Regions from separate parts of the Homo sapiens genome. Here region 2 is linked to region 1. The links are contacts of gene promoters, found by promoter capture Hi-C in human tissues and cell types (Jung and others, 2019). All regions are on one chromosome and are shown on one strand. The core of a region is centred on a gene start or on the middle of the fragment in contact, and the rest is flanking DNA. Distances in the headings are between cores, read along the strand shown. Region 1 holds the start of YTHDF2 (YTH N6-methyladenosine RNA binding protein F2). Region 2 has its middle 18 kb from the start of EYA3.

Region 1 (6,474 bases), core at 3,269-5,768:
GGCATGGTGGCACACACTTGTAGGCCCAGCTACTCAGGAGGCTGAGGCGGTAGAATTACTTGAATCCAAGAGGCCGAGGTTGCAGTGAGCCCAGATGGCACCACTGCACTCTAGCCCAGGCAACAGAGCCAGACTGTCTCAAAAAAATAAAATAAAAACAGGCCGGGCACAGTGGCTCACGCCTGTAATTCCAGCATTTTGGGAGGCTGAGGCGGGCAAATCACTTGAGGCCAGGAGTTGGAGACCAGCCCGGCCAACATGGTGAAAGCCCGTCTCTACTAAAAATACAAAAATTAGCCAGGCGTGGTGGCACCTGCCTGTAATCCCAGCTACTCAGGAGGCTAAGGTGGGAGAATTGCTTGAACTCAGGAGACAGAGGTTGCAGTAAGCCGGACTGCACCACTGCACTGCAGCCTGGGCAACAGAGCAAGACTCCGTCTCAAAAAAAATAAATAGCCGGGCGCGGTGGCTCACACCTGTAATCCCAGCAATTTGGGAGGCCAAGGTGGGAGGATCACGAGGTCAGGAGATCGAGACCATCCTGGCTAACACAGTTAAAACCCCGTCTCTAGCAAAAATACAAAAAATTAGCCAGGTATGGTGGCGGGCGCCTGTAGTCCCAGCTACTCGGGAGGCTGAGGCAGGAGAATGGTGTGAACCCAGGAGGTGAAGGTTGCAGTGAGCCGAGATCGCACCACTGCACTACAGCCTGGGTGACAGAGTGAGACTCTATCTCAAAAATAAATAAATAAATAATACATAAAAACAAAAGTGAGGTCTTTTCACACATACCCTTTTCACATTTAAAATTTCTCACAAAGGTAAGGTTAAAAATTTTAGCAGACCCAAATCCACATATATAAGAAATTCAGCCTATAATCAACAGATTAAACTTGAAGTATTATTCCAAAATAGGGTAATGAAAAATTGGCTAAAAAGTAGATGACTTACTCTAGACAATGAACTAGATTCTCAGGTTACCCTTCCTCATCTACTCATCTAAGATTTATATTATTAGCCAAATTTTTTTTAAACAAAGACATTTAAGCTTTGGCTTACCTGAGAAAGAAAAATCAAATGCACTTAATATCACAGGTTATGCCAAGACACAGTTGAATGTCTGTACCTGAACTGGCAGGCTCCCACATGCTCAAGCTAAAAAATTTGAATTACACAATGTTTTACAAGAACTACCTAGAATTATGCTTCTAAATGCTCCAACTCTCCCTGTTATAATGATTATGTAAGCAAACTACTTCAATAGCAGGAACCTATTAATAGTTCATTCCTCTACTTCCTTCCCTACTTTTCCTGATTAACTGGTTGTGTTTTGTGAAAACTTTTTTCCAATCACTTGCTCAAGTGGTTTCTATACTTTCAGTGTTGAAAATTTTACACAGGGATTCTACAAGTTTTATGTGATAATCAGATCCATATATGGGCATGCAGTTATTCAGGACTACCAACTATGTTTCATACAGCATACGTTCAGAACTTATAAATTTCTTGACCTTTCAGGGCATTTTGGAAGATATATTGCCAGTTTTCCTTTTGGCCTATTAATCTGGGGAGTTAAATTAGTTACAACAGTGTAACTGTCTTTGGAATCAGAGATAATAATACAAAAGAACTGCTGAATCAAACAAGTTTCTACATGCACAGGTCATATTAGTATTTGAATCTACATGCAACTTTAAAAGACTATGCCACAAAAACCTCCAACGTTATTGATCTTCATTTGTGCTAAACAGTATTTTAACTTTCACTCCATTTTATAAATCCTACACCTCCCTTCGGTGAGAAATAAAGTATTCTCCACAGATGTAGGTGCAGCTCAACTCAAAAATTTCCTGACTCAGCCGGGCATGGTGGCTCACACCTGTAATCCCAACACTTCTGAGAGGTCGAGGAGGGCGGACCTCTTGAGCTCAGGAATTCAAGACCAGATTGGGCAACATAGTGAAACCCCCATCTCTACAAAAAAATTAAAAAAATTAGCCGGGCATGGTGGTCCCAGCTACTTGGGAGGCTGAGGCGGGCAAAATCACCTGGTAGGCAGAGGTTGCAGTGAGCCGAGATTGCACCACTGCACTCCAGCCTGGGTGACAAGAGTTGACACTACGTCTCAAAAAAAAAAAAAAAAAAATTTCCTAACTCCGAAATAGTTCTGATAATCTAAGAACCCATAAACTAGAGAAAAGAAAGACAGCCAGTCCTGCAGCACTGAATGAAGTTCAGGTGACTATTTTTTAGAGACCAGATCTTGTTCTGTCACCAAGGCTGGAGCGCAGTGGCTTTTCACAGGTATGATCGTAGATAGCTCACTGCAGCTTCAAACTTCTGGGCTCAAGAGATCTTCCCGCCTTCAGGTGATTTTACATTAGAACTTTCCCTATCATATGAATCCAAAGTTCTCTGGGGTGAAAATTCAGAATATTTAACACTGTAAGAATCCCTAAATTCTGCACTGCTACATTCTTGGTAAGGAAGAAGACAATTATTCATGCACATGTTACTGCCAGTAGAGTGTTATCAGTATTACGTTCTCAATACAGTATGGTTGCTGATATTACAGAGATGGGAATCTCAACGGCCTAGGACATTTGCAGTTAACTGTTTTATAATACATTAATAGGTATTAAGGAGGTGAACCCTCAGAACATGGGATTTCCTGATAGAGGGCAGAGAAAAAATACAGGTATTAAGAAAGTGAATCCTCGGCTAGGCGTGGTGGCTCACGCCTGTAATCCCAGCACTTTGGGAGGCCAAGGCGGGTGAATCACCTGAGGAGTTCAAGACCAGCCCGGCCAACATGAAACCCCGTCTCTACTAAAAAAATAGAAAAACTAGCTGTGTGCGGTGGTGCACACGTGTAATCCCACCTACTCGGGAGGCTGAGACAGGAGATTCGCTTGAACCCGAGAGGCGGAAGTTGGAGCGAGCCGAAATTGCGCCACTACACCCCAGCCTGGGCGTCAGAGCGAGACTCAGTCTCAAAAAAACAGAAAACAGAAAAAAGAAAAAAAAATGAATCCTCAGAAAATGGGATTTATTGGTAGAAGGCGGAGAAAGAATATACCACACCCTTCGATTAGATATGTAAATAGTTAACTACTCACGGGCCTTGCCTGTGGACTCAAGTAAGGTTCAAAATCATCATCGTTTAATCCATCCTTTTGATGTACAGATCCATTTTGTACTAAAGAAAAAAAAATTCAATTAGGAGTGTCCCAATCCTACAATCTTCCTTTCAAATTAGTTCATATATGCTAACCAGAGAAAAACCTTACTAGTTAACAAAGCACGTAAGATTGAACTTCAAAAGGGTAAGAGATGACAGTGAATGCTGAAGCGACAGTCGCCAGTGAAAATGTCCCCCTCCACCCAGAGCAAGTTGATCTAAAAAGGTCATTTTATTGGCTCCTCTGGATTTCCATTCCCTCCCGCTTCCCCTCCCCCATCACATGAGAGTACTTCCAGAGAGTGATCCACGAGGATGAAAAACAAAGGCCTTCTAAGACCTACAGGAAACTAAGGACCTGGAGCGTTTCAAAACCCAATCCACCCCCACCCTTAATGAATTACTCCTTGTTAGCGAAAAAGCTGTTCGCCAGCTGCAAGAACACACCGAAAGGGTCAAAATACTTAAGTGTGCGGCACCTGCGAACTAAGCGGCTTCCGAAAGGTCCTCCGCCCGGGGCGCTTCCCGGAGACCCCGCCCCCACCGCCCCGCGTCCCCCTCCCGGCTCAGGGCCACCGGCGGAGCGGGACTTACCTTTGTTTCCTTGACCTTTTGGTCTCTGCAGGGGAAGGAAACGTCGCCGAGCAGCAAGTTGTCCAAAGGAGAAATGGAAAAGGAAGAACAAATTAAGGCAGGGCCCGAAGGGAGAATAAAGGAGCAGGCCCGAGGGGAGGCGTCAGGAATGGTAGTGAGGAAGAGGCTGAAAATGGGAGGCGGGGGAAAGCGCCAGGCCCGTGGGGCAGGGGAGAAAACGCGGCAGACGCGCCACCGGCGACGCGAGGAACCCAGGGCTTTAAGGAAGGGGAAGGAAACAAGGAAGGAAAACGAGGCCCGCCGAGAGAAGGGAACGCGGCGCGGCCCGGCCCGTGGGCTCCGAGGCCCGAGGAGAAGCGGGAAGAACAGGCTGAGGGAGAGGCGCCGGGCGCGGCCGGCCTGAGAGGCCCGAAACCTGGCCCGCAAGAGACGACGCCTCGGCTCGGCTCGGCCTGCCCAGGAGCGGCGGGCCCGGGCCTAGTCGGGCTCCTTCTCGCCTCACACAATGGCCGAGGCATGCGGGCCGGGCCTGTACCTGCTCCAAGAGGCTGCTGGCCGACATGGCTCTCAGATCCTCACGGGCGGCGACGGCGGCGAACTCTCCTCAGCGCGGCGGCGGCGGCAGATGAGCCCCGTCTGCGGGAGCAGGCGGAGGCTTTTGTCCCTGACACTCGGGGGCCTCGGCGGACGCAGCGGAGACACAGCGCGCGGCTCAGGCTCCGGCTCCGACTCGGCGACGCTCTAGCCCAAGAGCTCAATGCCCGTCTCTATGCTTTTACGCGCGCGCCCGCCCCCCACCGCCTAAAGCAGAGCGCCGAACAGCGGAGGCGGGCGGCGCGCGCGGCGCGAGCGCTGACTCTCACATTCACTCACCCACGCGGAAGGGGCCCGGCGCGAAGAACCCCGGGAAGGGAGAGGCCGGCCGCTGCGCCCTCTGGCGGATTGGAGGAGCGGAAGCCGTGCTCACGGCCTCCCCGCCCCCACCGCCCCAGGATTAAGGCCTAGGGGGTTTGGGACGACCAGGGTCGCACCACGAGGTTTCGACTAACACCTGGAAAGACTAGCTCTGGCTTCAGAAGAACGACAAAAGCCGGTTTCTCAGTGAGGGAGGGGCCTCCGAAGCCCGCGAGACCTTAAAATGAACCTGCCTTCCAGCTGCAAGTGATACCCCACCCCCATCTGGGAGGTAACCCGACCCCTAGGGAGTCACACAGTCCCCAGGGAAACTTCATGGGGGCCCTGTCCGGGAGTGACCCGCCCCCGCCCCCGCGAGGGGCTTGGTCATCCTCTGTTAGCCGACTACAGAAAGAGTACCCAGAGAGCAAAACACACACCGAAAGAATCCAGTCTCCCGCAAAAGAGATTCACCCCTTAGCATTGCAGGAAGGAGAATCTACAATTTATTTTCGGGGAAATCGCTGGCCCCAAGATAATCTGTTAAATTGTGGACTTTATTTCCAAGAAAAATACACCTCATGCATCTACACAAAACTTTCAAGGAGTCCGGAGAACCTATGAATCTTAAGGACCTCAAGAGGGAAGCAAGGAAATTAACATTATTGAAATACCAGCTGTGGGCCAGGCTTTGTTGTTAGGTATTTTCAAACACATTAAAGTCTTTCGACAACTTCAAAATCGCTATCAGTCTTTCGGTTTTTTACGACTGGAAAAACAGAAAGCTTAAGTAATGTGCCCAAGTTTACAAAACTATTAAATAGCCAGGTGTATCTGACACTAACATAATGGTATCTCTCTACCCCTACGAGACTCTGTATTAGGGAACCAGAATATAGGGGAGATGCAAAGGATGGGCAAAAGTATTTTCAATCAGAAGCAAAGCCAACTCATGCAGGAATATTTGATACTAGGAAAGCCCATCTAATAGCTTTTGTTATTGCAAGTACGTCGTGGTAAACAGGTAACTAATGCACTAATTGTCAACCTCGTACTATCCACACGCTGGATATAGGAGGCTTGGGTGGACTCGGTAAAATAAATAACATGGCATCTTGGATTTAACATCATAATTTGGTCAAAGTGCTCAAAGCACTTTTTTTCTCTGCCCATAATCACATTTATGGTAGGAATGAGTAAGGTCAGGCACCAAAGGTGAAGGACTTTTAATGGAGACAGTAAAATGTCAAGTCTGGGAGCATAGATTCCATCAAGGGAATAGAATAAACCTAGTAATACTTCTTTTTAAAGATACTCGGCTACGGCGGGCGCGGTGGCTCATGTTTGTAATCCCAGCACTTTGGGAGGCCAAGGCGGGCCGGATCATGAGGTCAGAAGATCGAGACCATCCTGGCCAACATGGTGAAATCTCGACTCTACTAAAAATACAAAAATTAGCTGGGCATGGTGCCATGCACCTGTAGTCCCAGCTAATCGGAGGCTGAGGCAGGAGAATCGCTTGAACCCGGGAGGCAGAGGTTGCAGTGAGCCGAGATCACGCCATTACACTCCAGCCTGGGCAACAGAGCGAGACTCGTCTCAAAATAAATAAATAAATAAATAACAAATAATAATAATCAGCCACTTAGCTCCATGGCCCAGATTTATGTATAAACTGTAAGCGGTTGCCTATACTTACCCTTGGAGGCAACATGGCATTGTAAAAACAGCATTAGACGAGAAGTCATATGCTGGGAGACAAAGGGTCTAAATAATGGTTTCCCCACCCAGATGTGCAATACTGG
Region 2 (6,408 bases), core at 2,772-5,271, 630 kb after region 1:
GTACTGGCCAGGTGTGGTGGCTCACGCCTGTAATCCCAGCAGCTTGGGAGGCCGAGGCAGGCAGATCACAATGTCAGGAGTTCAAGACTAGCCTGGCCAAGAGACCAGCCTGGCCAATATGGTGAAACCCCATCTCTACTAAAAATATAAAAATTAGCCGGGCGTGGTGGTGTGCACCTATAATTCCAGCTACTCGGGAGGCTGAGGCAGGAGAATTGCTTTAACCTGGGAGGCGGAGATTGCAGTGAGCTGAGATCACACCATTGCACTCCAGCCTGGGCGACAGAGCAAGACAAGGCATTTTTCATTTTGATGACTGCAGAATATCCACTGTATGTGTATAGCTTAGCAGCTAATCAATCCTTTATCATTGGACATTCAGTTAGTTTACAGTTTAGCTGTTTTTATTTTTGTTTTTGAGAGGGCAGTTTGCTATTGTAAACAATGCTGTAACGGACTACCTTTTAACTAAGCCTCTTCTTTTTTTTTTTTTGAGACACAGTCTCACTCTTGCCCAAGCTGGAGTGCAGGCTCGGCTCACTGCAACCTCCTTCTCCTGGGTTCAAGCTATTCTCGTGCCTCAGCCTCCCATGTAGCTGGGATTATAGGGATGTGCCATCATGCCCATCTAATTTTTTTTGCATTTTTAGTAGAGATGGGGTTTTGCCATGTTGACCAGGCTGGTCTCGAACTCCTGACCTCAAGTGATCCACCTGTTTCGGCCTCCCAAAGTGCTGGGATTACAGTGAGCCACCGCTCCCAGCCTTAACTAAGTTTCTTAATATACTCTTATAATTACATTCTTGATTATTTTCTTAACTTTCCAGAAGTGAAATGGCTGGGTCAGAAGACAATAAATAGCAATCTCTTTTAAGTAAAATGATGCACTTGCTTTTGGTTCTGTTTCTGCTACTTTGAGTAAGTAATCACTCATTTATTCATCATCCATTCACTTAACAAGCACAAGAAGCACAGAGTAAAATGTGGTCCTCGTCTTCAAGGAGCTCATAATGGAATGGCAGAGGCAGGCAGGGCAACAGTTAATGAGAAGGAGTGACAGTTGTGGTGGCGGCTTTCGACAAGGTTTCCAGTGATCCCTGCTTCCTGATATTCATGCCCTTGTGTAATTCCCTACCCATGAATATGGGCTGGACCTAGTGAATTGCTTCTGATGAATGGAATATGACAAAAGTGATAGGATGTCACTTCTGTGATTAGGTTACAAAGAACTGTGACTTCCATCTTGGTAGCTCTCTCTCTCTTTTCCTTGCCCTCTCATTTGCTTGGTCTGATGAAGCCAGCTGCCACACTTACTTGATGGAGAGGCCTATGTAGCAGGGAACCCAGGGAGGCCTCCCGCTAGCAGCTCTTGAGGAACTGAGGCCTCAGTCCAACAGCCTGTGAGGAACTGAATTCTGCCAACAATCATGTGAGCTAGGAAGCAGATCTTTTCCATTGAGCCTTCGCTGACCAAGGACTTAGCCAAGCCATGCCTGGATGCCTGATCCATTAAAACTGAGAGAATGAATTGATATAGTCTTAAGCCCCTACATTTTGGAGAATTTGTTACATGGCAGTAGATGACTAATACACAAGCAGAGTGGTACAAATGAGTGTGTGATAGGTGCAGGCATGAAGGAGAAGCATGAAACCGCCATGGTGGGGAAGGGCCACGTCTGATAGGAGTTCTGAGTGGAGGGCAGGCTTGCATTGCATTTTGCAAGCTAAGAAGGAATTAGGGGAAGAGAAGAAGTTTCCAGAACAATCAAGCTCTGAGACCATTTCCCTAACCTGTGTTACCAGATCACTTGTTGCACCCTTGGCTAGAGGTAAATTCACTGTGAAGTTAGCAGAGTTTAAGCCCCAGGGCCCCTCACCTGCACAAACTCCTTTTAAAGCCCAAGAAGGGTCCTAGTAATGTTGTATTTATAATTCTGCATTCTTTTTCTTAAGGAGAGCCACCTAATTTAGGCCCCTGCATCAATGGACTTGCCAAGACCCTTTTAACGCCCTTCCTCTCGCCCCTTTCAATCTATAGCATATACTTACCAGTCCTATTTGGCTCTGCCTCCTCAAATACTGTTTCTCAGCAGCTCATCCTAGCCCTTCAGCCTTTACTTCCTTAACCTAAACAATCCAGGTTCTGGAGTTTTCCCTACAGGCCCTGTTCTCTACCTCTTTAATCATCTTTACTGCTGTTTTTGTTTTATTTTATTTATTTATTTTATTGAGATGGAGTTTTGCTCTTGTTGCCCAGGCTGGAGTGCAATGGCGCAATCTCAGCTCACTGCAACATCCGCCTCCCAGGTTCAAGCAATTCTCCTGCTTCAGTCTTCCCGAATAGGTGGGATTACAGGCATGCACCACCACGCCAGGCTAATTTTGTAGTTTTAGTAGAGATAGGGTTTCTCCATGTTGGTCAGGATGGTCTCTAACTTCTGACCTCAGGTGATCCGCCCACCTTGGCCTCCCAAAGTGCTAGGATTACAGGCGTGAGCCACCATGCCCTGCCTTTTACTGCTGTTTTTGAAGACTCAAAAAAGTTTTTCCTTAAGTGGTAGTTTCCAGAACGGATGTGTTTTTGTAAATGGCAAGCCTGGTTCCTGACCAAATGGCATTCGAGCAGGGAGGGCCACGTGGGGCCCTCAGAACAGCCTCTCTGCCCATTGTTTCCCTACCTCCCACCCCCAACTTCAGAATGACAAAGTTTCATCTGATGAAAGGAGGGAGTGGCTGGGGAGAAAGTAGAAGGGGCAACAGGAGAGGGGGCAACAGGAGAGAGGGTACCCTTCCACTTCCTTAGAGATGGGACCTCTCTTTTAAGATGCTTTTGGCAGTATTTCAAGCTGCTGATGGGCCCAAGAGGGAAGGAAACTGACATCATTCATACCTACACTGTGCCAGGCACATGGGCTTTCCAGACACTATATCATGGAATCCTTGCTACATCCCTGAAAGAGAGAGACTCCTCATTTTATTTTATTTTATTTATTTATTTTTGAGACAGAGTCTCGGTCTGTTGCCCAGGCTGGAGTGCACTGGCATGATCTCGGCTCACTGCAATCTCTGCCTCCCGGGTTCAATTGATTCTCTTGCCTCAGCCTCCCGAATAGCTGGGATTACAGGCATGAGCCACCATGCCTGGCTAATTTTTTTTTTATTATTTTTTGTAGAGATGGAAGGCTTCACCATGTTGGTCAGGCTGGTCTCGAACTCCTGACCTCAAGTGATGTGCCTGCCTTGGCCTCCCAAAGTGTTGGGATTACAGGCGTGAGCCACCGCACCTGACCAAAACTCCCCATTTTGTAGCTGAGGAAACTGAAGCACAGCCAGCAAGGGCCAGGTCAGGCCCAGCTAACTTAAGAGTCCAGCCTCTAACCCCAGCCCATGTACCCCCATCCTTTATTGATTCTCCCAGGGGCTACTACCTACATTCAAGTCCTAAATGAAAATTGGTGAGCATCACAACAAAAATCCACTTGGAAATAAGTTTAATAAATGAAAAAGTCAGGCAGGCCAAACTCCTGATTCTGGGAGATCTGTATAACAGAAGAAGACTCATCAGTGACCTGGGAGTCCTCCCAGAGTTGGGATTCACTTCTAGAGAGAAAAAAAATATGTATTGACAAGAAGAGGCAGGAGATCTAGGCCCCAAACCAGAAGATGGGGATGAAAGTTAGGCTGGACAGACTATAGGATGGGGATAACAATGAACAATGAAAGTAATGAGAATAGCAACTATTGTTTACTGAGTGCTTACGAGGTGCCAGGCACTGTAATACACACACACACACACACACACACACACACACACACACACACGTTATATAGGTTAGTGCATTTTATCCTCACAGCAACCCCAACTAAATCTTATACACAGAAGCAGTGGTGAAGCAGACCAAAGTCTGTGCTTCTGTGTGTAAGAGTCTTCATCTTCAGGCTCCTCAACCTAAAAATACAAATGATAACCATGCCTTTTTAGTAGGGTTGTTGTGTAACCCTACTAAATGTAACCACTAGGCTTTACTAAGTCTCGGAGAATGGGAGTGGGAGAAATCTAGCCCTGGTAAATGACACAAACAGAGAGAAGCAGGGCTTACAAAGTGCCATAACTTGGGAGGGTGGGGTATAGGGGTGGCTAGGGCTCATCCAGACCCAGATCTTGCAGGCAGCAGAGGTGACTCATGGGAACCTCGGAAGCTAGCAGTTGAGTGCTTTGTACCAAGTTTGCAAACAAAGCTCTTGGGTTCAGAGAGGGTGGAGAGATGCAGAGTCTATCAATATCCATTGGCCTCTCTCCGGATTGGCTCAGGAATCTGAGTGGGAGGAGCTTAGGTCTCAGGGATGATGACGTGAGGCTGGACTAGGAAGCTGCAGCTCGCTGGGCTCCTTCACCTTCAAGGTGCTCCTACCCCAGCGCTGGAGTCACACACTTGTGTTTGGATCCCGCCCTTCCCACCTCTGGGACTTCGACTTAATGATTTAACAACCTTGAGCCCCAGTTTTCTGTAAAGTGGAGAGAATCAGAATATATATAGCCAAATGATAGATAATAATTGTGCCCTTGGGAGAAGTCAGTGAGGCGCTGCATATGAAGGACTAACACAGTGCCTCGGATGCTGCATGCTAGTAAATAGCAGCCAGATTATTGCCAGATTCCTATTCAGGGGAGCCGGAGAAGCTTTTTCTACTTTCCGCTTCCTTCTCCTCCCATTGCCTTCTTTGGTAGGGAAGTGGAATTGTATTCCAGAGGCAGAGTACATGTAATGCCTCTCTCACCTTTCATTCTTTTCACCTCTGAATGATTTTTATTAGTTTTGTAGCTCACAGCCCATTTCACAAAGTTGTAATTTGCCTCTTGCCTGGAGAATATTAAACTGTTACATAAAAGCAATAGTTTTTTTATGCTAGGAATTTTCACTATGCCGATTTTCTATGTCTTTTATAGATAAGACATTGGATCAGCCATGGTTCATTGATTGAAAACATCAGTGACCAATTCTGGTCTTAATAACAACAACAACAAAAATATTTTATTGGAAAGATATGGGATAGCTTACCGAAGGAAAGCTGAACGTCAAGCCTCAGAAAAAGCATACAGGGTAGCTCCAGGGATCTAGGTAGCAGGAAGTTTTGTTTGTTTGTTTGTTTTGTTTTGAAACAGGGTCTCACTCTGTCGCCCAGGCTGGAAGTGCAGTGGTGCAATCACGACTCACTGCAGCCTCAACCTCCTAGGTTCAGGTGGTCCTCCTGCCTCAGCCTCCTGAGTAGCTGGGACCACAGGTGCCACCATGTCTAGCTAATTTTTTTCTTTTGTATTATTTGTAGAGACAGGGTTTCGCTATGTTGCCCAGGCTGGTCTCGAACTCCTAGGCTCAAGCAATCCTCCAGCCTTGGCCTCCAAAAATACTGGGATTAGAGGGGTGAGCCACCATACCCTGCCTCATAATATCTTCTAATTGCTAGTTCATTTTCAAATTTCCTCAATTGATAAAAGAATTTTTTTTTTTTGAGACAGAGTCTCGCTCTGTCGCCCAGGCTAGAGTGCAGTGGCGCAATCTTGGCTCACTGCAACCTCTGCCTCCTGGGTTTAAGCGATTCTCCTGCCTCAGCTGCCTGAGTAGCTGGGATTACAGGCATGCGCCACCACGCCTGGCTAATTTTTGTATTTTTAGTAGAGATAGGGTTTCACCATGTTGGTCAGGCTGGTCTCGAACTCCTGACCTCGTTATCCACCCGCCTCAGCATCCCAAAGTGCTGGGATTACAGGCGTGAACCATCATACCCGGCCTAAGAATGTATTTTGTAGACTTTTTCCCAAATCAAGATTGTATCAAAGTTCACTCATTGCAATTTGTTATTGGGTCTCTTTACTCTCTTTTAGTCTAAATCCCCTCCATTTGTGGATTTTTCATGATATTGACATTTTGAAGAGTTTAGGCTAGCTGTCATGTAAAAAATTTTTACATTTTTTTGGTATAGTATTTTTTATTGTGGTAAAATATGCATAAGATTACAGTTTTAACTATTTTAAAGTGTACAAATCAATGGCATTAAGTACATTTACAATGTTGTACAACCATCACCACTATCAATTTCTGGAACTTTTTTTTTTTTTTTTTGAGATGGAGTCTTGCTCTGTCGCCAGGCTGGAGTGCAGTGGTGTGATCTCGGCTCACTGCAACCTCCACCTCCCGGGTTCAAGCGATTCTCCTGCCTCAGCCTCCTGAGTAGCTGGGACTACAGGCACGCGCCACCACACAGCTAATTTTTGTATTTTTAGTAGAGACAGGGTTTCATCATATTGGCTAGGATGGTCTCAGTCTCTTGACTTCGTGATCTGTCTGCCTCGGCCTCCCAAAATGTTGGGATTACAGATGTGAGCCACCACGCCCGGCCAATTTCTGG

Evidence for each region. The method cuts DNA at HindIII sites, captures the fragments that hold promoters and counts their contacts. A contact is called where the count stands out against the background at its distance.
Region 2: a fragment that was not itself captured here is called in contact with the fragment with the promoter of YTHDF2 in region 1 in 1 of the 25 tissues and cell types used here (hippocampus).

Annotation. Positions count from the first base shown.
Region 1 is chr1:28,734,984-28,741,457 of GRCh38, reverse strand. YTHDF2 (YTH N6-methyladenosine RNA binding protein F2) reads right to left here and starts at 4,518. Exons shown (of 5, transcript NM_016258.3): 1 at 4,311-4,518; 2 at 3,776-3,800; 3 at 3,120-3,199. The coding sequence starts at 4,337. RefSeq lists enhancers at 3,912-4,021, 3,904-4,802, 5,122-5,171, 5,702-6,474. The HindIII fragment of the contact is 10,776 bases long and covers 1-6,474 here.
Region 2 is chr1:28,103,178-28,109,585 of GRCh38, reverse strand. No RefSeq gene overlaps it. Among named protein-coding and RNA genes, the nearest start is that of EYA3, 18 kb to the right of the region's middle. The HindIII fragment of the contact is 4,559 bases long and covers 1,742-6,300 here.